Linked DNA regions of Homo sapiens: regions 2, 3, 4, 5 and 6 are each linked to region 1. Evidence: promoter capture Hi-C in 16 types of primary human blood cells and fetal thymus (Javierre and others, 2016). All regions are on one chromosome and are shown on one strand. Each heading gives the region's core, a stretch centred on a gene start or on the middle of the fragment in contact. The rest is flanking DNA. Distances are from core to core; before and after follow the strand shown. Region 1 holds the start of MAGI3 (membrane associated guanylate kinase, WW and PDZ domain containing 3). Region 2 holds the start of RSBN1 (round spermatid basic protein 1). Region 3 overlaps RSBN1 (round spermatid basic protein 1). Region 4 overlaps AP4B1-AS1 (AP4B1 antisense RNA 1). Region 5 overlaps LRIG2 (leucine rich repeats and immunoglobulin like domains 2). Region 6 overlaps MAGI3 (membrane associated guanylate kinase, WW and PDZ domain containing 3).

Region 1 (4,041 bases), core at 1,024-3,523:
ACAAACCTGGAGACAAAAGCTCACATGCATGTGATGGCAGAGAGCAAACACAAAAAAGAGCTTGGGTCCTTGATGACATGATTGTACTGCTCAACTAACCCTGAAACTATCTGCACTTGAAATTTATATTGAAGATATAGTAAATGACCTCATGCTTTAAGCTACTGCCAAATATTCTGTTCCTTGAGGCCAAAGGCATTCTAACAGATGCAATCTAGACACAGAAAGATGTTTTCCCAGAGTTCCTGCAAAAACAGATGATGTGTAGGTTATGGAGATTTTATCCAGGAATCCATTAGTATAGGTAGTAGTTTAGAAAAAAAATACTCCAAGCTTTGTCTCAGATATGGTTAAATCTGAGCCATCCACATGGTGTCTGTGCTGAATATTTTCCCCTCAGATGCACTGTTTCCTTTTCTGAAACTGACTGATATGAACTATATCAAAAGCCTCCCTTGCCCTCTGGCGTCTGGTTGGACTTGGCCATTGACAAGCACCAGCAGGAGACTGGAGGAGGGTGGTGAGTTAGATATAAATCCCCCAGGTCCTTTGCTGGGTGTTTACTTAGGCTGACTGCATCCGTTGACTGAAGGTCACAGACTCCTGTCAGGTGGCCCTGTGTGTCTGGATTTTTCGGTAACTGTTCTTTCCCGATTGGACAGATCTAGGAGCTGTAGCCTCAGGGTTCCAGCTTCTCTTGTGGTTTCCCACACCCTGCCCACATCTTTGCAAAATGCCATTTGTTTCCTGCCAGGACCCTGACTGATACAATGGTGTCAACGAAATCACTGCAGCTATTGAAGCTTGGTCCAGTCTATCTGAGGTGTGGAGTTTTATAAGGGCTTTCACCTACTATTAAAGGGAGACAGGAGACTACACAAATAAATGTCATGCTGCAAAAGTGAAACAAAGATCATAGCTCAGAGAAAACACTTTCCACTTGAGGGCAAGAAATCAGAGAAAGCTACCTGGAAGAGCCGGCATTTGGGATGAGGACGGATAGGAGTTTTAAAAGAGATGAGATGAAGGGCATTCCAAAGACAGGGAAGAGTGTAAGTCAAGCCGGGGAAGAGAGAAAGCTCAAGTGAAATTTCTGAAAAATTAGAGCTGGAAGGGATCTACGATATCTTTTATTTAATGTTCGTTCTCCCTTCACCTCCTTTAACTGAGATTTGGCCAAGGTCAAACAGCAAGTAAGTAGCATGTCAGGACTCCAACCAGATCTGCTGGCTACCAGGTTAGTTCTTAATAATCCACCTTCTACCTCCACCCCACTCCCTCACCTCAGGCAGTCTGCTTACTTCTCAGTCTCTCCCACTAGACTGTAACCTCCTCAATAGCGGGGCTTCTGTTTTCTTCACCCTTGAATCCCAGTACCTAGCACAATATCTAACACAAAATCGTCATCGTCATCAGCAGCAGCAGCAGCAGCTACCAAACTTTAAGAGGCAACCACCCACTGTCAGGCACTATGCAGTTATTTTGTACATCTTCTGTAATCTTCACTTTTCACTGAGGACGCTGCGGCTCAGAGAGGTTGTCTAATTTGTCTTAGGTCATACAGCAGTGCCGGACTCTATTTTATAATATCTTTCATCAACCGGACTCCGAAGCCCTGCCTCAATGGGCGTTCAGTAACATCTGTTGAATGAACGAATGAACAAGCAATATCCACTCAATGCAAACTATCGGCTGTAACAGGCCACCCTAAAGGCCCCGGAACCTCGGCCGGCTCAGGACTCCGCACGTTGTCTTCCAATCTAAGCACACCGGCCCCTCTCTGCGCCCCGCACAGGCTCAGAGGCTCCGCCCGCGTCTCCGCCTAACTCGCCGGCCACGCCCCCACTTCGGGGAGCTCGGTCCCTCTCGGATTCGAGTTTTCCTCGGCTCCAGCCGCCGCGCAGAGGGCCTCTCCCGGCCCTGCGACCTACAGCCCCTTCCACTCCCCTGCCCCTCCTCTGCGCCCTCCCTCACTCTCCAAACTTCTTTTTTCCACCCTCTCTAAACTTCAGTCATTCTAGTGCCCGCCTCCTCCACTCGCACCGACCAACCAGTGGTCCCCATTCTCGTTGGCGGTCCGCCTCCTGCCCGCCGGGGGCCAATCCCTGGCGCGAGAGTCCAGGGCCGGGGCTCGTTCCCAAGCGCCCAGCCTGTGACGGCAGCGCGCCGGGCGCCGCGCGGCGGGAGGGGGCGGGGCTCTGGATGAGGGATGGGCGAGGGCCGGGGGAAGGGAAAAGGGAGGAGGAGGAGGTTGCGGCTGGTTTGAAAGCGGCAGTTTCCTGGCAGCTTGGGCAGGCGTTGGTCTCCGCGCTACAGCTCCGCAGCGGCCACGATCGATCCCGCGACGGGTCTACGCGCGCTTCTGCGCGCCCCCCACGGATTTTTCCCGTTCCCGGCTCTTCCCCCTTCACCTCCCCGCCCCCCCGCCTCAGCCTTTCCCGCCGCTCGGGCGCTGAGCCCAGGGACCAGCCGGCGGCAGTGACCCCGCCCGAAGCCCCTTCTGGAACCTCCTGGGGACAATTCCCTTTTCCTTTCTTCAGCCTAACCCGCGGTGGCCCTCGCGGAGTCCGGTCAGCCCCGGGGAGCGCAGCCGGGAGGGGCGTCCAAGGGGCGTCTCGCGTCTGGGAACGGCCGGGCCCCCAGCGGGCTGTGGTCGCGGGGTGGGGGCCGGAGCGGCGAGGCCCCCCTTACCGGGCTGCGCGGGCCGCCCAGGGCCCCCGGGCTGAGACGGGGCCGGAGCGGCGCCCCGGCCGCCCGCGCGGGGTCTCCCCCATGGTGCAGCGGGGTTCGGGATGTCGAAGACGCTGAAGAAGAAGAAGCACTGGCTCAGCAAGGTGCAGGAGTGCGCCGTGTCCTGGGCCGGGCCCCCGGGCGACTTCGGCGCGGAGATCCGCGGTGGCGCGGAGCGTGGCGAGTTCCCCTACCTGGGGCGGCTCCGCGAGGAGCCCGGCGGGGGCACCTGCTGCGTCGTCTCGGGCAAGGCGCCCAGCCCAGGCGATGTGCTGCTGGAGGTAAACGGGACGCCTGTCAGCGGGCTCACCAACCGGGACACCCTGGCTGTCATCCGCCACTTCCGCGAGCCCATCCGTCTCAAGACTGTGAAACCAGGTACGCCGGCCCTGCGTATCTGTCTCGGGGTGTTGGGGAGAGGGGCTTCAGGGTGGGCGTCCTGGGAGCGGCGGCACCTCCCCACCGCGTATTGTCCCGGGTAATCTTAGACCTCTAGGGTGTGCCAGACTCCTTGACGAGGGGGAGGGGTGGCGTTGGTGAGTCCCATTTTGCCGAAGGGAAAACTGAGCTCTGGCTTGGCGCGGTTGCTCTGCTAGCTGTGCTAGCTGTCACAGAATTGCGACTAGAAGCTGGGTTTCCTACATTTGTAGCTCCATCTCCCCCCGCAGACAAGAGTTTTTGACTAGAGAAGGCCAGCCTTTTCCTGTGTTGTGCAAAAAGGCCCTTAGGATTGTAACATTTTCTTTGGAACGATCTTACGCATCTTCTAACAGGGAAAAAGGGACTTTACTATAGAGGCACTTGGTGCCAAGGTTACCACCTGGTGTACCTGGAAGGGCTTAGCTGCTTCAGTGTTTCTTGCACTCTAGCAGACATCTCAGAGCTGACAGCCTAACTCTGTCAGTCCAGGTGGTTCAGGTGTCTGAGTACCGATGACGGTACAATATGTGATATGTGGCAGACTGGTGTGTTCTTGCAGGGAGCTGTTGAATAGAGTCTGGGTTTTGCAGGAAGACCTAGGTGCCTAGCGGAGTGAAAGCTTCTGTAACGCTTTTGATTTTACAGAATTTTGTTGAAGTGGTAGGTTAAAGGAGCCTCTGTTGCCCTGGTATCTTTTATGCTAGTAAAAATTGCTGCAAAGCACGTTATGTTTATGGCATACTCGTCAGTTTCAAAGCATTGATCAGAGACAGCATACAGTGAGATCTGATAGTATGTAGTAGTTCTTATGAATTTGTTATAGACAGCATTGTTGGTTTTGTTTCAGCATAGATAGAATGTGGTTCTGTCGTCTTAGATGTTTGTGGGAGA
Region 2 (3,762 bases), core at 304-2,803, 420 kb after region 1:
ATCCACATTTAATTGGATACTCTGACATTTTCTAGTAAAATATTCTTGAGGGCTATTGGAATTAACAGATCCACAAAGTGTGCTAGACAGAATCAAATGCAACTGAAATTCCGGCCTCTACTATCTACTGCACAAATTCCCACTTTTCAGAGGCACTGTTGGTCCTATTTCCTAGTATCAAAGGGTAGAGAAAACCTTCCACATGCCTATTCTAAGAATTTAAATAGCTAATATGAAAACTTTAAAATGATTTTTACCTCTAGATTAAAAAGAACCAAGATAAACTGCGTCTGATATTTTACCTTGCAGAAGCTAAGTCAACCAGTGAGTCGTGTAACCTTTATATGAATTCCCTCCTGAAAGACTGGAACCATACCCCTGACTATTCTGGAGCAAGGGAGAGCAGATAACTAAAGCTCTCCAGCAAGCAAAACAAGGAGAAGGGATTTTAGGAACATGCCTTTTCTTTGGAAAGGCATTTTTTAGTACCCCACCTACTAATCTAACGCGGCGCGGAAACCTTGCAGAATTTGAAAACAAATGCTGAGAGGCTCCGGGGGACCGGTAAAGGGATTAGCAACTGACAGCTCGGCCTCGGAGCGAGAAGCCTCAAGTAGTTAGATCAAACCGTGTCAACGATCTGAAATCCAGGGTCCACCCCAGTGAGCTTAGAGAAGTACAGCAGCAGAAGGTAAGCAGGGGTTTGGCGTCTTTCAGTCCTAAAGATGCGGGATATCGGAACTGAGAGAGACCTAGAACCCAAGCCGGGCAGTTTGCCTGCTCTCACCTCTCTTGGGGGCTTTGATCAGAGGCACCCCTCCAGTCCTCTCGCCGTTTTCCTGCTTGTCCTTGTGCTTGAGATCGGTTCCGCAGGAGCTGGGATCACCATCGGGGCCGCGGTGGTGATGGTGCTTGTGCCGCTCCTTGTGGCCCTTATGCTTGGGCCCGGCCGCGCTCACCGTCAGAGGCGAGAAGGTGAAGAGGGCCGAGGTGCTTGGGGCCGGGAGAGGGGCAGCGACAGCGGGCCCGGCGGGTGCCAGCGAAGGTGGCGGCGGAGGCGGCAGGAGAAGAGGCTCAACAGGGCCTGGGACAGTTGGGGCTGCATTCGTTGGCGGCAGCGGCCCAGGATGTTGGCGGCTGCGACGCCGCCGGTGAGGGGGAGCGAGAGGGGGCTCCTGGCTCGGCCGCCCCCGCTTCTCCTGAGACCCCCCACTGCTAGATCGGCGCTGCCGTTTAACTCCCCGCGGGGAGACCCCAGCATGAGGTTTCTCCTTCCCCTCTTTGTCCGGCTCCTCCTGCGCCGCCACCGCCCGTACTACGCGCACCGCTCCGACCTGCGCAGCCATTTCACCCACAAACACACATTTAAATGGCCCGACCGCCCCCCCGTCCGCGCATCGCGCAAGCGCCGCCCGCGCACTGCCCGCTGGGCATTGGAGTCTCTCCTCCGCCCTCCACTTGTCGGCCGTTCTTCGTCCAGAGATGAACATGCCGGAAGCGGCCGTTCCCAGCTTTTCTCCGCAGGCCTCTCCAACCGAGCTTCTATTGTAAAGCACCCTATGCCGCGCAAAGCGTCATGGGAGCTGTAGTTCCGCCGCGCCCCCGCCGCGTCCCCGGCTCTGAGTGGAGGAGTGGAAAGGGAGCGTGCGCGAAGTCACGCTTCTGGCTGCGACGCAACCGCCGCTGGGCGGTGAGTTGCCGCCAACCGCCCTAACGGCCGAAACAATGTTAATGGCTTTCAGAGTCTGGCGGCGCGTTCCCATTATCATCTTCCTGTGACCCTTCCTCATTTTACACGGAGGAGGTGGTCTCCACAGTGATTTTAAATTTAATATTTCTCTCATAACCTTTGTGAGATAAAAGAATCTTCATCCTTTTAACTTTGACGAGGGATGAAATGAAGGTGAAAAGAGGATTTAGTAATATGTAAAATAAGGGTGGTTTTGCTGTAAAAATATGATAGGGCCGCAATTCAGAAATGTTTTCAAGCATCTGGGGCATTGCTATGGTTACAACTACAGGCCTACGAAGTCAGGTGCGAGAACTGCTTGGAGTCCTGGTGAGGACGGCCCCTCCTCGCCATCCGGCCACATCCCCTCTAATGCCTGGAAATGTCCAGCATTTATTTTGAATATATCCCTACAGTTGCGAAAAATTGTAGATGGAAAACCACGTTTAAGATTTTTTATAAGTTTTTTTTTTTCAAATCTTAAGGATAAGATTGCATAAATTTGAAAAGTGTGCCTACCGGAGAACACACCAAAAATCATCACTGCTCACTACGGATAGTTGTTGCTCAGAAATTCATTTAGAATTTCATCCTCGCTTTAGCTTTTACCTGGGGTTCTTTTAAGTATTTATTTAGAGACGGGCGGGGCGGGGCTCGGTGTCTCAGGCCGGTAATCCCAGAGCTTTGGGAGGCCGAGGCGGGAGGATTGCATGAGGCCAGGAGTTCCAGATCAGCGTTGGTAACATAGTGAGCCTCTGTCCCTACAAAAGTATTTTTTAAATTATCTGGGTGTCGTGACACGCGCCTGTAGTCCCAGGTACTCGTGAGGCTAAGGTGGGAGGAGTGGTCGCACCACTGCACTCTGGCCTGGGTGACAGATCTAGACCCTGACTCTTAAAAAAAAGAGACAAGGTCTCGCTCTGTTGACCAGGCTGGCCTCCAACTCCTGGGCTCAAGGAATGAGTAGCTGGGTCTACAGATGCACTCATGGTGCCCTAAGTAACTCATGGTTACCTAGAATTCTTTTAGTATATTTGTTTATTGATAAAGACATTTGGAAGTAATTGATTACAATGATATATACTCAGCAGATAAAATTACTGTGGTTTGATTTCACTAGTTTCTGGAGAAGTATTACCTAAACACTACTGCAATGAAGTCAGTTTAACAACCAAAAAGTTTATTGAGTGTCTGTTGGATACATTGTACTACAAGAGACAGATAATAATACTTCATTCAATTTGCCCTATTGGACTTCCAAATGAAAAATACTGAAGAACAAATGATGTTTAAACAATACTACATGTTTCTAAAAGTTATAAATAAAGTTATTTAAATAAAAATATTTTTAATGCATTAGGGGAAGTCAGGTGGATTCTTTGTAAAAACAATTACCTGCCAATTTATTTACTACATAAAATTAGAGTTGAACTAGATTTTCTTATGGCAGATCCATATTCATATAGAAATTCATTTTAAACTAGTATTTCTGATTGGTTAGATAAAAATTGCACATGATCTGAAAGATCCTGTATAAACATATACAATTTATATCTTTTGCTACCAAAAGATAGCTATTATATTTCATTGATTACTTTTCTAGAATTGGTAATTTAATGACTTTGGTTAAAACTTATCAGGATTTCAGTTGAATTCCTTGTTACATTCAAATAATTGTCATTATTTGCACATTTTATTCTAATAAATATAATTTCTCATTTTCTTAATATTCCAGTTTTCCACAACATTTGGGAAGATTTACAAGGTATACTCCATTTAGGCAAAAATAACTGTCAGGGAATAGTCATTGTCAAGAGCAGTTTGTATTGCAACCCACAAAGTAAGTTTTTTTTTTAACTTTTTATAGTATATTCTGGCAATGTAGAAATTAGTTGAGATCCAAATCTTACAAACCTTTTGAAGTTTATGTTTATGTAGAAAAGTAAAAGAAAATAAAAATAACTGGCAAAAATGAAAAATAAATCCATTCTAAAAGTGTTTCTCATATAGCATTCTGTACATAAGCTCAAGTG
Region 3 (3,490 bases), core at 966-3,465, 400 kb after region 1:
ATGGTATTCATAACACAAGTAGACAAATTAGCCTGACAAATTAGCCTTTGAGGAGGAGATAGAATATCTTCTCTACTGTAACAGGAGAGAATGAGGAAAAGATGTATACAGATAAAGTTTAAATAGTATTTATGAAGAACAGGTAAACAAGCTAAACAAAGAAAAGAAGTAGGCTTCCCAGGCAATGTTGACAACCCAATGGGAAGCATTATAAAATGTCATGAAGAGACAAAGTCCCCAGTGATGGCCAATCAAAACATGATTTTTTAAAATTTGCACTTTGTAGAGGTCAGATAAGATTATCTCTTAGTTTATGATGCTCTGAAATTCTAAAAAGATGCTATCTACAGGTCAAATGAAAGGAACTAGAGTAATGGTAGATGGTATATGGTTTAAAACAGTGTTTCTTAAACTTGCCTGATCATAGGAATCAAGTCGGTCAAGGTACTTATTTCATGCCTCACTCCAGACCTCATGAACCAAAATTTCCAGAAGAGGAACCTGAGAGTCTAATGTATATTTGAACTAGCAACCCCAAATTATTCTTAGGATCTGGCAAGTTTGGGAAACTCTGGCCTGGAAATAGCAACTGAAAACAAAGAACAAGTTGAATTCTACAGCTTTCCGGAGTTTATGTACTGGAGCACAGTGGAGGAACAAACAGAATTGGGAGGACTGGAGGGAGGTAAGTACGAGACCAAAGAACAGAAAAAACTAAAGCTGCCATGGAAGCAGGAGACATAACGCCAACAGGAAAAACACAGTCTTTGGTAAAATCAGAAGGCAAAGTGGGGAGGGGAGAAGGATGTGGCATCAAAGAGAAATATGCCTATTAAAAAAAATAATAGTTTTGCATAAAATTTATTCTCTTTATAATATCTATAAAATGTTAAACAATTATCTTTGAATATATATACTGCTGTCAATACATATGTAGTGTTTAAATTAGAAACTCAACTTCACAGTTATCCTGTATGAATTTCTGAATTAAGTAAGCTCAACTGTGTCCCCAATACATAGAGCTTCTACAAAGGACAATTATAAATCTGTTAATAACTCAGGAGAACACCAAGCTAAAAAAGCACTATGTGGAAAACCCTGTGTATGGGGGTTGAGAGCGGGTGTGGATTATTCCACAGAACTCACGTTTCAGGAAGAAGCCTATTCAAGCTGACTTTTTAAAACACAGAAAGGAAAAAATTAGCCAGCGATCTTCCTAACCTTGTGCCTTGTGAATAGAAAGGCATTCCTACTTTAAAATATATAGTGAAAAAACAGTGTGACTGGGTCAAAGTGAGTACTTAAAATAAGAGGAAAAAAAAAAGAATCAAGCCTACCATTTTTATTTATGCCATTTTATTTTATAAAACCTGCTACTTAAAATGTTTATTTCTCCTTTTCTATAACACACTAATAATGCATACAGTTCCTTAAGGGTTTCTGAGCTATTTCCCAAGCTATATACTACTCTACTAGTTCTATTCTTATTAGTATTACCAATTCATTATAAAATGTTAATCAATCAAAGATCAGAGTGCATATAACAAGCCCATATAAGGCCTTGTCCCAACACACAACGAGGGAATAACATTTTTTGTTTTTCTCTGGAACCGTAGACACTAAAATTATACACGCCAATGCTACAGAACATTATCATTTTATAGAGTAATAAAAGTAATATAAGAAATAAAACTACCTAAAGTTAAAAAGCTTTGATTCTCAGTGAAACCTCAAAATTATATATGAAAATTTTTGAAAAAGATACTTAAAACATGCAGATTTGCCAATCTTCCCTACCCCCAGCAAACACATAACACACACTCCTCTCCATGTACATCCTTCAATTACTTAGTTGCCAGAAGATCTCAGAGGTGATATTGAAAACAATTCCCTTTTAACTTCACTGTATTTTTAGTGTTTGTTATTATTTGCGCTTGCAATTTATGTACAGATTTTGAGACCTATATGGCCTTGGTGGTCCATTTACTAGCAACATCAGCATCACCAGAAAATGCAGACTATAAGCAAAGCTAGTGCTCACACCTGTAATCCGAACATGCTAGGAGGCCAAAGCAGGAGAATCCGTTGAGACCAGGTGCTCAAGACTAGCCTAGACGACATAGTGAGACTCTGGCTCTATAAAAAAATTTTTAAATTAGCCAATTGTAATAGTACACACCCGTAGTCCTAGCTACTCTAGAGGCTGAGGCACTGGAAATAGCACCTGAAAGCGAAGAACAAGTTGAGTTCCACCACTTCCTGAAGTTTATGTACTGGGGTACAGTGGAGTAAGAAACAGTAGAAAGACTACTAGAGCCTAGGAGTTCAAGGCCTCAGTGAGCCATGATCACACTTCATGATCACACTTCAGCCTGGGCCACAGAGCGAGACCTCATCAAAGAAAGGAGAAAGAAAGGAAGGGAAGGGAGGGGAAGGGGAAGGGAGGAAGGAAGGAAACTCAACTTTATAAAGTTATCCTGTATCAACTGCTAAGAGTTAAGTAATCAAACAAGGATCAGCTTACTGTTTCAATGGACATATAAATTTTTCTGCTCTGGTATTAGAACATTTGAGTTTTCTAGAATGTTAAAAGAAAACCCTATATGTGGATCCTAGCTTTAGCCACCACAATAATTTAAAAATATAAAAATAACAGAAGTTTTCATTTTTCTTGCACAAAATCTACATTTTACTTTCTCCTGCTTAGAGGAGCTGAGTTCTAAAGCTTCTCAAAGTTTAATGTGCATATGAATCACCTTTTAAAAATGCAGATTCTGATTCAGAAAATCTGGGTAAGAGCCCAGTCTACACTCCTAGCAAGCTCCCTGGTGGTGCCAAATTCATACATAGAGCAAACTTTTAGTAGCAAGGTTCTAAAGAAAAGGCATAATTTACAATAGTATTTACCTGTCCACGGTTTGCAAAGCACTAATCTTGATCATGTCTCCAATTCAATTCCTAATTGATAAACCTACCACTTTCCCATCCTTACTTACTGGATCCTTCATATGGATAAAATAAACACTTCATTCTTAAAATGCAGAAAACTTCTAGTCTTTCTTCTGCCTGCCTTTCTTTTTGGTCTTTTCCCATGTTCATCATACTTACTTGTGGATGCATCACAAGATTCCACCCTTAGTTTCATCTCTTTTCCACTGCTATTGCTGGTTCCATCTTCTGCATCTCCGCATCTCCTGCATTAATGGGTTCAACTTCTGCATCTCCAACCTAGACACATCTCTCAAACTTGGATCCATACATTCAATTCCTAAGAGTTCTTTTTTTTTTTTTCTTTTTTTCTTTATTGAGACTTGCTCTGTCGCCCAGGCTGGAGTGAGTGACGTGATCTTGGCTCAGTGCAAACTCCACCTCCCAGGTTCAAGCCAGCATCCCAAGCAGCTGGGATTACAGGCGCCCGCCACCATGTCAGCTAATTTTTGAATTTTTAGTAGACATGGGGTTTCACCACTTTGACCAGGCTGGTCTCAAA
Region 4 (3,562 bases), core at 126-2,625, 480 kb after region 1:
TAGCAATCCTTTCTGTTTTGCAACATTATTCAAACTTCCTTCAGGATATCATGATTCTGAACACTGCTTAATCTGAACATTAAAGATACTGCATGCTCTTTACTAAGTACTGCAAAAAAAAAAGAAAGATCATCGAGATATCTTGGTTATAGACAACTTAAAGACAATATTTCAAATTAAGAAACTCAATCCCAGTATACATAAATTAAAATAAACCCTCATTCTTCAGCAATATTTGTTAGGAATAGTATATTTCTTAAATTATCCCCATCTAGAATTAAGAGAGAATTTCTTGCTGCTCTAAGTAACGTGATGTTTACTTTGGCTATTTTAAAACATAAAATATGGGAAATCTTTGATTTATAAAAATACAAAATTTCAAGTTTGTAATAACTAAAACCATGTAAAAGTGTGTACATAGTTAAAGACTAAAAGAAGCAAAAAAGAATCAATTGTGTAAGTTTGCTTTCTAAAATTATCATAATTTTAGAATTATGATAAAGTTTGCTTTCTAAAATTATCATACCGTTTTTAAAATTAGAAATAAACATTTAAAAATCCATTAAGTTGTTCAACAAATTTATTGAGTACCCACTAAATTCTAAACATTGTCTTAGGAGATTGGCATACAACACTGAGAAAGCCAGAATATGGTAAAAACAAAACAAAACAAAACAAAAACATCCTTAGCCAGTTAATAAAGCAACTCAGAACTAAAGATACAGACATGATTACTGATAAAAATTAAAACACTCCTTAGGTAACTTTGGGAAAGAAAATAAAAATAAAAACATTCCAAACTAACTTGCTTAATTGCAGAGTAGCAAAGCATAATCCTAAAAGGAAAATGATTTTCTATGTTTGGACAAAGAAGATAATATAGTTTTATAATTTCTCTGTACCCTTAGAATGTCCTCAATTACACAAAACTAGAACTTTATTAATTTTTATTAATTGATGAGGCAAACCTGCCTAATAAAATTTAAATCTATTTTTCTCAAGCCTATATTTCAGCACAATCTCTTACTAACTTTCTTGTTTCTTCTTAATGAGGGAGAAGACAGAAATAAATAGGAGATAACAAAAAAAATTTTGCTTAGATGCCTCCATAGTCCCTTTCCTCAAAATCTAAGAATCTGTAAATAGTGTCTTGGCAGAACTTCACACTTTTTTAAAAAAGCAAGCAGCAATCTATTCTACTGTAAACCCAAAAGGTATAGAGACATTGTGAAATAACCAAACCCCCAAAACCCACTTAGCTACAAGGCCATTTCCTGAGCAGACCACTCAAGCAAGCAAAAAACAAACTGAAGAAGAAAACAAAAAACTTTAATTATTTTTTTTGTTTTGGGTTTTTTTGTTTGTTTGTTTGTTTTGTTTTGAGACAGGGTCTTGCTATGTTACCCAGACTAGTCTGGAACTCCTGGGCTCAAGTGATCCTTCCACTTCAGACTTCCAAGTAGCTGGAGCTATTATTTTTTTTTTAAAAAAATAAGCTACTACTTAATTTATCACACTTCCTTCTACAGAGCACAATGCTTTTTGATGAAGATTGTGTTGACTCATTTGTATCTTGCGGGAAGATAAAGAGCTGGGGAGGGGAAACAAGACATGCAGTAAAGGTTGGCAAATACCTAAAAGAGTTTCAGAATTTATGATGAATCATTTAAACCAGTCTGGCATAAAACCTAAGTGAACACAATTCCATGCAATAAAAAAAGACTCACAAACATTTTGCCAGAACCATCAAGTAAATTGTGGGAAGTAAATTGTGGATAAGCACCTGAAGAGGAGTGACAAGGCCACATCTCACTGCTGCCTCATGTGGCTGTAGTGCTTGGTCAGAAGGAAGAACACAACAGAGAAGAGTGCTGGTCACCATGTCACCTGTTCCAAGAAGAGGGGAGTATGCTAGTTTAAGGGGAAATATCAGTATCACAGAGGTCAGGAATTAGATTACAATAAACATTAATTGAGGAGAATTTCAGGGAAGACTACAAGGGTAAGATAAACTATTCAATAGGAAAAACATTCAGGATTCTCAGAACATCCTTCTGTCTTTTAGATGAGGGGGAGACATGTTTTACCCTGGAGAAGATACTTACCCAACCTTAGCTTTAGTTTCACTACTCTTGCCTTTCCCTACATTCCAGGGTCATTGATTTGATATGGGATATATATACTGTCTGTGAAACATTCAGTCCTTTGTAAGCATTCTTTTGATCACCAAGGCCTATTGGAAATTTCTCCTCAATGTCTTTTAGATTCAACCTGTCTTTTCCATTCCCACTTAGCCCCATTCCCACTTTCACACCCGGATTCCTATAGCAATAAACTTAGAGTATCTTCCTATCTATATGTTTCCATTCTAGTATCTCCTGTTAACCAAGGCTGGATGAAAGTTCTTAAAACTGCACTTTAATGCTAAAGAATCAGAATAGTTATTGATGATCTACGGGAACAAGTCCAGATTCCTTAGCTTGTCACCAAGCCCCTCCCTGTCAACTATCCCCACCCAACCTATCCAAGCACATCACCTACAGACCTCGTTCGTTCTACTACCACTTTTTTCTACTTCTCACCTTTACCCCTAAGTTTCACCACAATGAAAATAAAACCATAAAGCTCAATTTTTCTTCAAAAATCTTGCCCCTAACTCTGTTTCGCCATGATCTTCCCTTAGTCTGAATCTCTTCAATATAAATCTGTATATTCAGCTATAGAAGTTTTCATTTATTCAATTTCCTTGTCTCCTATAAGTTTATTTAAGAGTTTATTCAAAAGATGTCCCCTGTATTTTCAGATTTATCAAAGGCAATGATAGTGTATTCTATGCGTTTGTATAACCCACAGTGCTTAACATGGTCTTGAGTATACCTAAAAATAAGTCTGTTGTGATAAAGTAGCTAATGTGGTTACGCTTTGGTGAGGGATCTACTCTCACTTGGTTACTCATTATATCAATTACTCCAAGTCTCTTGTCTGGCACAGTCTGTGCTTCTTGTCTCTAGCTAGGCACTTTCATTATGCCAGGAGCAGATGGGCCTTCCTACATGGAGGCACAGGAACCTGGCAAAGGGTACTTTCCTGAATGCTGCTGCCCAAGCAGCAGGGCTATTATTATGAAAGGAATGGTGTCAATACTGAGCTTCAGAGTCCATCTCTGAAGAACTGCAATGGCCAGAAATAAATGACCTCCTTTATCTCTAGAGTAGGCTTGTTTTTCCTTTTATAAATGAACACAGAAGAGGCTTATAAAATACCTTTAACGAAGCTTGTTTGATTTTCTCATGTTTTCACATCATCCCGGGTAGGAAAAGTCCCCCTACCCATCTTTCAATCTACTGCTTGTCACTACAGCATTCTGAGACTTCACTAAGTCCTTCAGTTCACCTGCTGCAGACTTCATAGTCAACCTCCCACTACACAGGGAAGCATACTCTGCCTTTGGTTTCAAAATCCTCAAGAAGCAAAGGTCAACCAATAACTTGCAATTGAAGTTTTTTTTTTTTTTTTGGAGACAGAGTTTTGCTGTTGTCACCCAGGCTGGTGTGCAATGGTG
Region 5 (3,732 bases), core at 43-2,542, 260 kb before region 1:
CTCCTTCCCTCTTTTTTTTTACTGAAACAGAAATTGATTGAGGAAGGTTCAGTCATTCCTTCAGGAACCAATGAGTTAGATCGGGTTGTTACTTTATGTATAATGAACGCTTCAAAAACTGGAGGCTGATTTAAAGATTGCAGAACTTGAGTCAGACTCATAAGCAGTACTGTGACATGAATTGGAGCCAGAACAGTTGCTGATATCAGAACCATCTCTTTCATTCTGTGACTTTGCTCTTGCCATGTTCTGACTGGGGTGAGCCGCTAGGATACAAATCACTATCACTGTCCATATTTGAGTCTGCAAATCTTGTCATTGTCTGCTTTAATGCTCTTTGAGTTGCAACAGGTGTATTATTTAAATGAGTATTTGAAATTCTGTGAACAGGAATTCTTTTGGTAGTGAAATAGGTGCTCACACCTGCTTGCTCAGAATGTGAAAATATTATTTCTGAGTTCTCTTTGTTCACTTTCTAAAGTGACTGTTGTTTGGTGTTGGAGATGTTAACTGGGTTCTATTAGGTGTGCTATATCTTGGCAAATATTCCCCATGATGAACTCTTCCTACTATCACAATCAGGACTATGACTGGATTTCTCAGTCTCAGTGCCCCAGATTCACCATTTCTGATTGTGTCTGGAGAACGTTTTCCTGGAAAGGCATTCCATGTTCCAAAAGCTACAAAAACATGCCACTTTGCAACTATGGGTCAGTTATTTGCTCTCTCAATGTCTCATGTTGCTGAGTTCTAGAAAATCTCTGTCTCATTTACCAGGGGTCATTCAAAAGTCTGAGATGTATATTATCATGAAATATTTGTGAAATTTCTCACCATGAATTTGGAGGGAACCTACTTTTATTTCTCGCTCTGGTTCTCCATTGGTCTGGGCTCCTGCTTCTCAGTCTTCTCTGACCTCTGGTAAGTGGAACTTTCATTAATACTTCTGTCGCACTTTGTACCTGACCTAGGTGGCCTTGCAAATGTTGACTCAGATTGTGGATTTTCCACTTTCCTCTGTTTTCCCTATTTTCTCCCCTGGGAAATCTTGCAGATGATGCATATTCATTTTCTGTATTCAGCCTTCCATTATTAAGGATAAAATTGATCCCTACATTGAATCTGAAATTACCACTATATGGATTACTCTGGCTCACTGCTGTCCAAGCTTGGTTTTCTCTTTGCTTACTTCCTGTCATATTTTCAGTTTGCCCAAAAGAGGTAAGCCACTTTATTACAGACCCATTACTAGTGCTAGACGTCATCCACCTCTGTTTTCACCTGATTCTTGTGGGGAATCCTCTTTAATTTGTTGTAACCTTCTCAGCAACTCTTCTGTACTTCACCTATAGTGCCTAGCAAATTGTTATCACTCATAAGCCTGTAATCTTCATCACTCAGGTTATTTGCAAGTAGAAAGCTTCTGGAACCATTTGTCCATCCGACTTCTGCACTGGGCCACATCCATCTTCTTCATTGTCAGAATCTGAGTTTTCTGTCTTGAAGAACAGCTGGAAAGTTGTCTGGCTGTTATGACACAGTATTGAAATACCAGACTGAGTTTCAGTTGTTTCTAGTTGTGTTCACTTTGTGCTTTCTCTGAATGGGAATATCTTCTTTCAGCAAAGTTCTTCATTGACCAGGAAACCAAAGATTGCTTCTTTTCCAAGTTTGTTTTGTTTTTAATCTTTTACCAATGTGCAGTATATCTTAAGAAGGGAAGAGTGCTCTTGGGAGTAGAAGAACATGCAAACATTCTTTTTTCTTTATTATTATTTGAGATGGAGTCCCTCTCGGTCACCCAGGCTGGAGCGCAGTGGCATGATCTTGGCTTACTGCAACCTCCGCCTCCCAGGTTCAAGCAATTCTCTTGCCTCAGCCTCCCAAGTAGCTGGGATTACAGGCACACCACCATTTCCAGCTTTTTTTTTTTTTTTTTTTTTGATATTTTTAGTAGAGATGGGGTTTCACCATGTTGGCCAGGCTGGTCTTGAACTCCTGACCTCAGGTGATCTGCTTGCCTTGGCCTCCCAAAGTGCTGGGATTACAGGCATGAGCCACTTGCCTGGCCCCAAAATTCTTATACTGTAAAGCCTTGTAGTGGTCCTTATTTTTTTTTTTTTGAGACGGAGTCTCGCTCTGTCACCCAGACTGGAGTGCAGTGGCACAATCTCGGCTCACTGCAACCTCTGCCTCCCGAGTTCAAGCCCTTCTTCTGCCTCAGCCTCCCAAGTACCTGGGATTACAGGCATGCACCACCATGCCCGGCTAATTTTATTTGTATTTTTAGTAGAGACGGGGTTTCTCCATGTTGGTCAGGCTGGCCTCGAACTCCTGACCTCAGGTGATCCACCCGCCTCGGCCTCCTAGAGTGCTGGGATTACAGGCGTGAGCCACCGAGCCCGGCCGGTCCTTATTTTATACAAGTGATTAAGCCAAAAATTTTCTTGAATTTCTGATACCAAAGAGCTTTAGGTAAATAACTTCACACTCTAATGCAATGTAATTCTTTCTTTGTGCTTTCAGATTTCCTTACACTTCCTGTCCAGTTCTCTCTTCTAAATCCAATATTACTCACTAGATAATTTCAGCCACTTAAATAAAAATATCTATTTTTAAGTCCTGGTTCAAGGGTTCCAAACTCACATAATTTCTCAACTTTTTGCCAGAAAGTTGAGCATTTATTCATACTTATTTTCAATCCTAAGTGTTCTCCCATGGGCAGCAGCACTTCTTGAGCTGTTTAGTACTGCCACACCTTTTTATGTCTTTACTATGTCAGCCTCTGATCATTTTCACTTTGAACTTCCTAAAGATCACAATTTCCTATCCCTTCAATCTGCGATCCCTCTTCTTCCTTTCTTACTAGATTATGGTGTAGTTTGTACTAGACTGACTCATTAAGACCTTGTACGCTTCCTGAGTCTGCTTATTACTGGCTTTGTAATCAAGGGTGAGTCTTTTTACTTCTCTAGGCTAGATTTTCTCATTTATGAAATGAGGACATTTTTCTAGATGCTGTAAAGCCCTTTCCAGCTGTAACATTCTATGAATCTGTAATTCCCTCGAGGAGCTAAGGAGGATTATGCTACTTTAATAAAAAGCTGCTTTGGTGACATTTGTTCGAGTAGAACAAGAGTGATGCTGCTCATTCTGACTTGAGCCAGATGTATTTCCTTTATAGCAGGAGTAATGGTCTAAGAAATACTCATTAGGAGAAAAAAATTCTGCTTCTAAACAGTATTAGTAAACAAAGAATCTTGACTCAGTTGAAAAACCACCCATTGCTCTCTAGAGCAGAATGTCTGAATGCTGGTTTTATAGCACACTAGAATATCAGAATGAGTTGACAGGTATACCACAACTAATTTGTAACTAGTTTGTGACTCACCTTTCTAATGTATTCGAAGTTATCCCTATAATTATATTACTCTCGCTCAAATTCTGATAGATTTCCTGAATGGAATAGGTGGAATTAGGGCTAGGCTGCCAGAGACTGTGCCAATGAGCATCACCCGTCATGTGTGAGAGAGCAGAAGATAGCCTGTGAGCCAGTGCTCTAGAAAACATCATGTAGGAGGCCGGTCACGGTGGCTCACGCCTGTAATCCCAGCACTTTGGGAGGCCGAGGTGGATGGATCAAGAGATCGAGACCATCCTGGCCAACATGGTGAAATTCCACCTCTACTAAAAATACAAAAATTAGCTGGGCGTGGTGGTGCGCGCCTGTAG
Region 6 (3,671 bases), core at 1,082-3,581, 260 kb after region 1:
CCAAAGTAAAATTGCAGATTTGAGTAGGTATAATTTTTTAAAATTTATTTGTTCTTAGAAAGAGATGTAAATCTACCTTGGAAAAGATATGTACAAGTGGAATATATGTATAGTTGACTTAATGCTTATTTAACTAGTTGCAGAAGTACATCTTGATAATCCCAAGCCATATTCAGAAAGATGAAAACCAGTTGTACGCCCAGCAAAGCAATAATTTAAATTAGCATAACAATGTAGAATCCCTTTCTTCATACTTTCCATTCATAGCCTGATACATTATTAATACTGGTATAAACTCTGCAGTCCCATCAGGCTTCACCCATAAAATAAGTGAGTTGAACTGATGACTCTTTTTTTTTTTTTCCCCTGAGACAGAGTCTTGCTCTGTCACCCGGAGCTGGAGTGCAGTGGCACAATCTCAGCTCACTGAAACCTCTGCCTCCTAGGTTCAAGCAATTCTCCTGCCTCAGCCTCCTGAGTAGCTGGCACTACAGGCGTATGCCACCATGACTGGCTAAGTTTTGCATTTTTAGTAGAGACGGGGTTTCACCATGTTAGTCAAGCTGGTCTCAAACTCCTGACCTCGTGATCCGCCCACCTCGGCCTCCCAAAGTGGACTCTTTTAATCTCTAAAGTTCTACAATTTTAATAGGAAGTATATATCAAAAGATACTGCTTCTATAGAATATTATCAGGAATTTACTAATCTCACTTTTTACATAGTTCCCTGACATGTTTATTTCTTCTCTCTTTACAGTAAATACTTCTTACCTATAAATAACATTAATATTTTCCCAAAGGAAAAATTTTAGTCATGAAATAGATTTTTGTGACTTAATATTCTTTTTTTTTTTTTTTGAGATGGAGTCTTGCTCTGTTGCCCAGGCTGGAATGCAGTGGCACGATCTCAGTTCACTGCAACCTCTGCCTCCCAGGTTCAAGCAATCCTCCTGCTTAATATTCTAAGGAATACAACCTACCCTTTGAGGGTAGGACAGTATGAGTTAGGAGATTAGACCCTGGAAATCAACCTGGATTTAAATCTTAGCTTCACCACTTGCTATGTGACAATGGCCAACTTACTTACACCCTCAGTTTTCCCACCTAGAAAATGGGGCTAATAATAAATGTTAGCTCTTAATTATTTTCCTTTAAAATGCTATCATTTTGCAAAACTAGGCTAGGTAAGTAGTTCATATGGAATACTTTTCTGAGAGAAAGGTATTAGCTTGAGAGCAGGAATAAGGTATTTTACAGGCACTCTATACAGCAGTGCCTGTACAGATTTAATGTACCTTACCCAAGTGTTAACTTAGGTCATTTGCACCTGTCAAATATCAAACTCAAGTTTGATCATTCTGAATTCAACATTGTTATATTGATTGGACAGCATTAGAAGTTAATGGCAGTGTAATACTGAGTATATGGAAGTGAGAGTAAATGTTTCTAAACAGTCTTCATACAGTTTTGTTTAGAGCTCAAAACGAGGATTTATAGTTGAATTGTGTGTGTGTGTTACACTCTTGTGCAAATTTTCCATATTAAAAAGTTCTGAGATTATAGTTTATTGAGTTACTCTATAATATCCTACTAAATACTGAACTTTGTTTTGTTTTAATCCTTTTAAAATAAATCATAGTATTTATATTTTCTGATTTTCCTCAGCACCAAACACCAAAGATTTGGATGTTTTTCTTCGAAAACAAGAGTCAGGGTTTGGCTTCAGGGTGCTAGGAGGAGATGGACCTGACCAGTCTGTAAGTGTCACTTCTTTGGAACATGGCTGTTTCCTGTTCAAACGTTTTGAGTGGTGATTTGGTGGATTATGGTGTGTTTTAAGTTTTTTTTTCTCTGACAGTTTCATTAATATGAAGAATAACTGCATTTCCATTATTATCATAGTCCCTCAGTTATTGTGGTGTAGCTGAGGCTAAAAACTGTGGGTAAAAACTGAATATGTCAGCTGCAAATTAGACAGTGATTAATTTATTTACTTCTCTGTGTGAATAACTACATAAAGCTTATTTTAAGTTTATATTTTCCTTTGCCCTCATTAAACAGAGTCTAAGACATTTTCCTTCTCTAAGAAGCCTATAATCCCATGTCCTCTTTCCCACTATTACTCTATCTTCTGGATGCTCCATAAATGGTTGGCATGAGCCTGTGCATATTGTTTCACCTCGTCTTATTAATAGGTTGGCATTTTCATGCTCAGTACTTTGCATGTCATTTCATCTGTTACCTTTGAAACTAGAGGAATATAAAATAATTAATATTTTTGTCCAGAGGCATAAGGGTTATATTTGCAAAGCATTTGAAGTCTAGGATTTTGTTTACACATGATTCTCACATAAACTTGTTTTAGAGAACAAATGTAGTGGGTTTTGTTTCTAAGTTTTGCTCTTGGTTTGAATAACAAAGAAGTAATGTGTTCTGTAGCATTTTTAAGAACATATTTGCATTTTATTTTATATAATATCAATATATTATATATCAAAAAATATGGTTGGAAGTTAGGTGAAGAACAATAATCTTTAAAAATTACAGGCTTCTTATTTCTGAATAGAACATTTGATTTATGTAGTATAAATTTGTTCTAATTGGTCATATTGGTTACAGTTACAACAGTCATTGGAGACACATAAAGCTTAAGGCAGGTTGCCCTATGTAGAACAAATACTAGATACTTTAATTGTTCTTGGTATTTGTATTTTTGTTTTATTGCTTCCTATTTTGTTGATACTCATAATGTTCACTTAGACATTTTAAGAATTTGTCTCAAACAACTTAGAAGAAACCTTTCTTTTCTCTTAAATGTCAGATTTTAGCAGCTCTGAAACTAGCCTAAACATTCAGGATTGCCTAATTACAGGATTCTAATGCTGGTGAGCAAAATGAACCAGATTTGTTCACCTAGATGCAAGTGAAGCTTCAGGCCACTCTGTTCCCGCTGAGATTTAGAAACAAGAAATGTCTCTGTGCTGTGTATATTGAACTTGTACCGTTAGTCATATGTGATGGGAGTACTGTTGAGAATGATCCCAGTTGCTGTGAACAGTATGTAGAAAATCTTGCCTGATGACATTGAACAGACTTTTAATAGCTACTCTGCAGATTTATATTTTCTGAGTTTAGTGTTTTGTTTCATTGTAATGATAGGGATAATGGTTGTGCTTTTTGAGTTATCGAACAACTTTGTATTTTCTATTTTCTTTGTACACAGCCCTGAGGATCTATAAGGGATTACATAATACAATGTGGTTATTTGAAGTGCCATTTTGGAGAATGGGCACTTTCTCAGATAATACCTTTCTAAAATATAACTGTTTTCATAGTTGAACTGCAAAAATCTGTTGGTTTGCACAATGCTAAGTTAGGAATTCCTTAACTCTTCAGCTAAACTTTACACTGTGGACCAAACTGTACTTTGTTATCTTATCAGATATATATTGGGGCTATTATTCCCCTGGGAGCAGCTGAGAAAGATGGTCGGCTCCGCGCAGCTGATGAACTAATGTGCATTGATGGAATTCCTGTTAAAGGGAAATCACACAAACAAGTCTTGGACCTCATGACAACTGCTGCTCGAAATGGCCATGTGTTACTAACTGTCAGACGGAAGATCTTCTATGGAGGTGTGTGAACTTGTTCCTGCTCTGAAAAGTTAAAAA

What was found. Contacts are between HindIII fragments. The CHiCAGO score rates a contact against its expected background, and 5 or more counts as called.
Region 2: a contact is called between the fragment with the promoter of RSBN1 here and the fragment with the promoter of MAGI3 in region 1, in 2 of 17 cell types (fetal thymus and naive CD4 T cells). The highest score is 6.5, in fetal thymus.
Region 3: a contact is called between a fragment that was not itself captured here and the fragment with the promoter of MAGI3 in region 1, in 1 of 17 cell types (fetal thymus). The highest score is 5.4, in fetal thymus.
Region 4: a contact is called between a fragment that was not itself captured here and the fragment with the promoter of MAGI3 in region 1, in 1 of 17 cell types (fetal thymus). The highest score is 5.4, in fetal thymus.
Region 5: a fragment that was not itself captured here is called in contact with the fragment with the promoter of MAGI3 in region 1 in 1 of 17 cell types (erythroblasts); the score reaches 5.5 in erythroblasts.
Region 6: a fragment that was not itself captured here is called in contact with the fragment with the promoter of MAGI3 in region 1 in 1 of 17 cell types (endothelial precursors); the score reaches 7.4 in endothelial precursors.

What each region holds. Positions count from the first base shown.
Region 1 is chr1:113,388,242-113,392,282 of GRCh38, forward strand. MAGI3 (membrane associated guanylate kinase, WW and PDZ domain containing 3) reads left to right here and starts at 2,274. Exons shown (of 21, transcript NM_001142782.2): 1 at 2,274-3,108. The coding sequence starts at 2,793. RefSeq lists silencers at 606-850, 1,840-1,889, 1,920-2,279, 2,690-2,819, 2,880-3,039 and enhancers at 2,720-3,219, 3,270-3,319. The HindIII fragment of the contact is 2,966 bases long and covers 802-3,767 here.
Region 2 is chr1:113,810,923-113,814,684 of GRCh38, forward strand. It overlaps RSBN1 (round spermatid basic protein 1), which reads right to left and starts at 1,554. Exons shown (of 7, transcript NM_018364.5): 1 at 788-1,554. The coding sequence starts at 1,490. AP4B1-AS1 (AP4B1 antisense RNA 1) reads left to right here and starts at 1,690. Exons shown (of 5, transcript NR_125965.1): 1 at 1,690-1,903; 2 at 3,465-3,569. PTPN22 (protein tyrosine phosphatase non-receptor type 22) reads right to left here. Exons shown (of 21, transcript NM_015967.8): 21 at 2,889-3,762. RefSeq lists enhancers at 365-894, 619-678, 829-918, 895-1,424, 1,299-1,688 and 1 more. The HindIII fragment of the contact is 4,966 bases long and covers 1-3,762 here.
Region 3 is chr1:113,790,400-113,793,889 of GRCh38, forward strand. All of the region lies in intron 2 of RSBN1 (round spermatid basic protein 1), which reads right to left. Among named protein-coding and RNA genes, the nearest start is that of RSBN1, 20 kb to the right of the region's middle. The HindIII fragment of the contact is 1,015 bases long and covers 1,709-2,723 here.
Region 4 is chr1:113,872,928-113,876,489 of GRCh38, forward strand. The region is part of intron 3 of AP4B1-AS1 (AP4B1 antisense RNA 1); the gene reads left to right. Among named protein-coding and RNA genes, the nearest start is that of PTPN22, 3.0 kb to the left of the region's middle. The HindIII fragment of the contact is 3,793 bases long and covers 1-3,272 here.
Region 5 is chr1:113,125,460-113,129,191 of GRCh38, forward strand. It overlaps LRIG2 (leucine rich repeats and immunoglobulin like domains 2), which reads left to right. Exons shown (of 18, transcript NM_014813.3): 18 at 1-3,732. It also overlaps the pseudogene RLIMP2. Among named protein-coding and RNA genes, the nearest start is that of LRIG2, 54 kb to the left of the region's middle. The HindIII fragment of the contact is 252 bases long and covers 1,167-1,418 here.
Region 6 is chr1:113,647,572-113,651,242 of GRCh38, forward strand. MAGI3 (membrane associated guanylate kinase, WW and PDZ domain containing 3) reads left to right here. Exons shown (of 21, transcript NM_001142782.2): 13 at 1,666-1,757; 14 at 3,443-3,635. Among named protein-coding and RNA genes, the nearest start is that of PHTF1, 110 kb to the right of the region's middle. The HindIII fragment of the contact is 627 bases long and covers 2,019-2,645 here.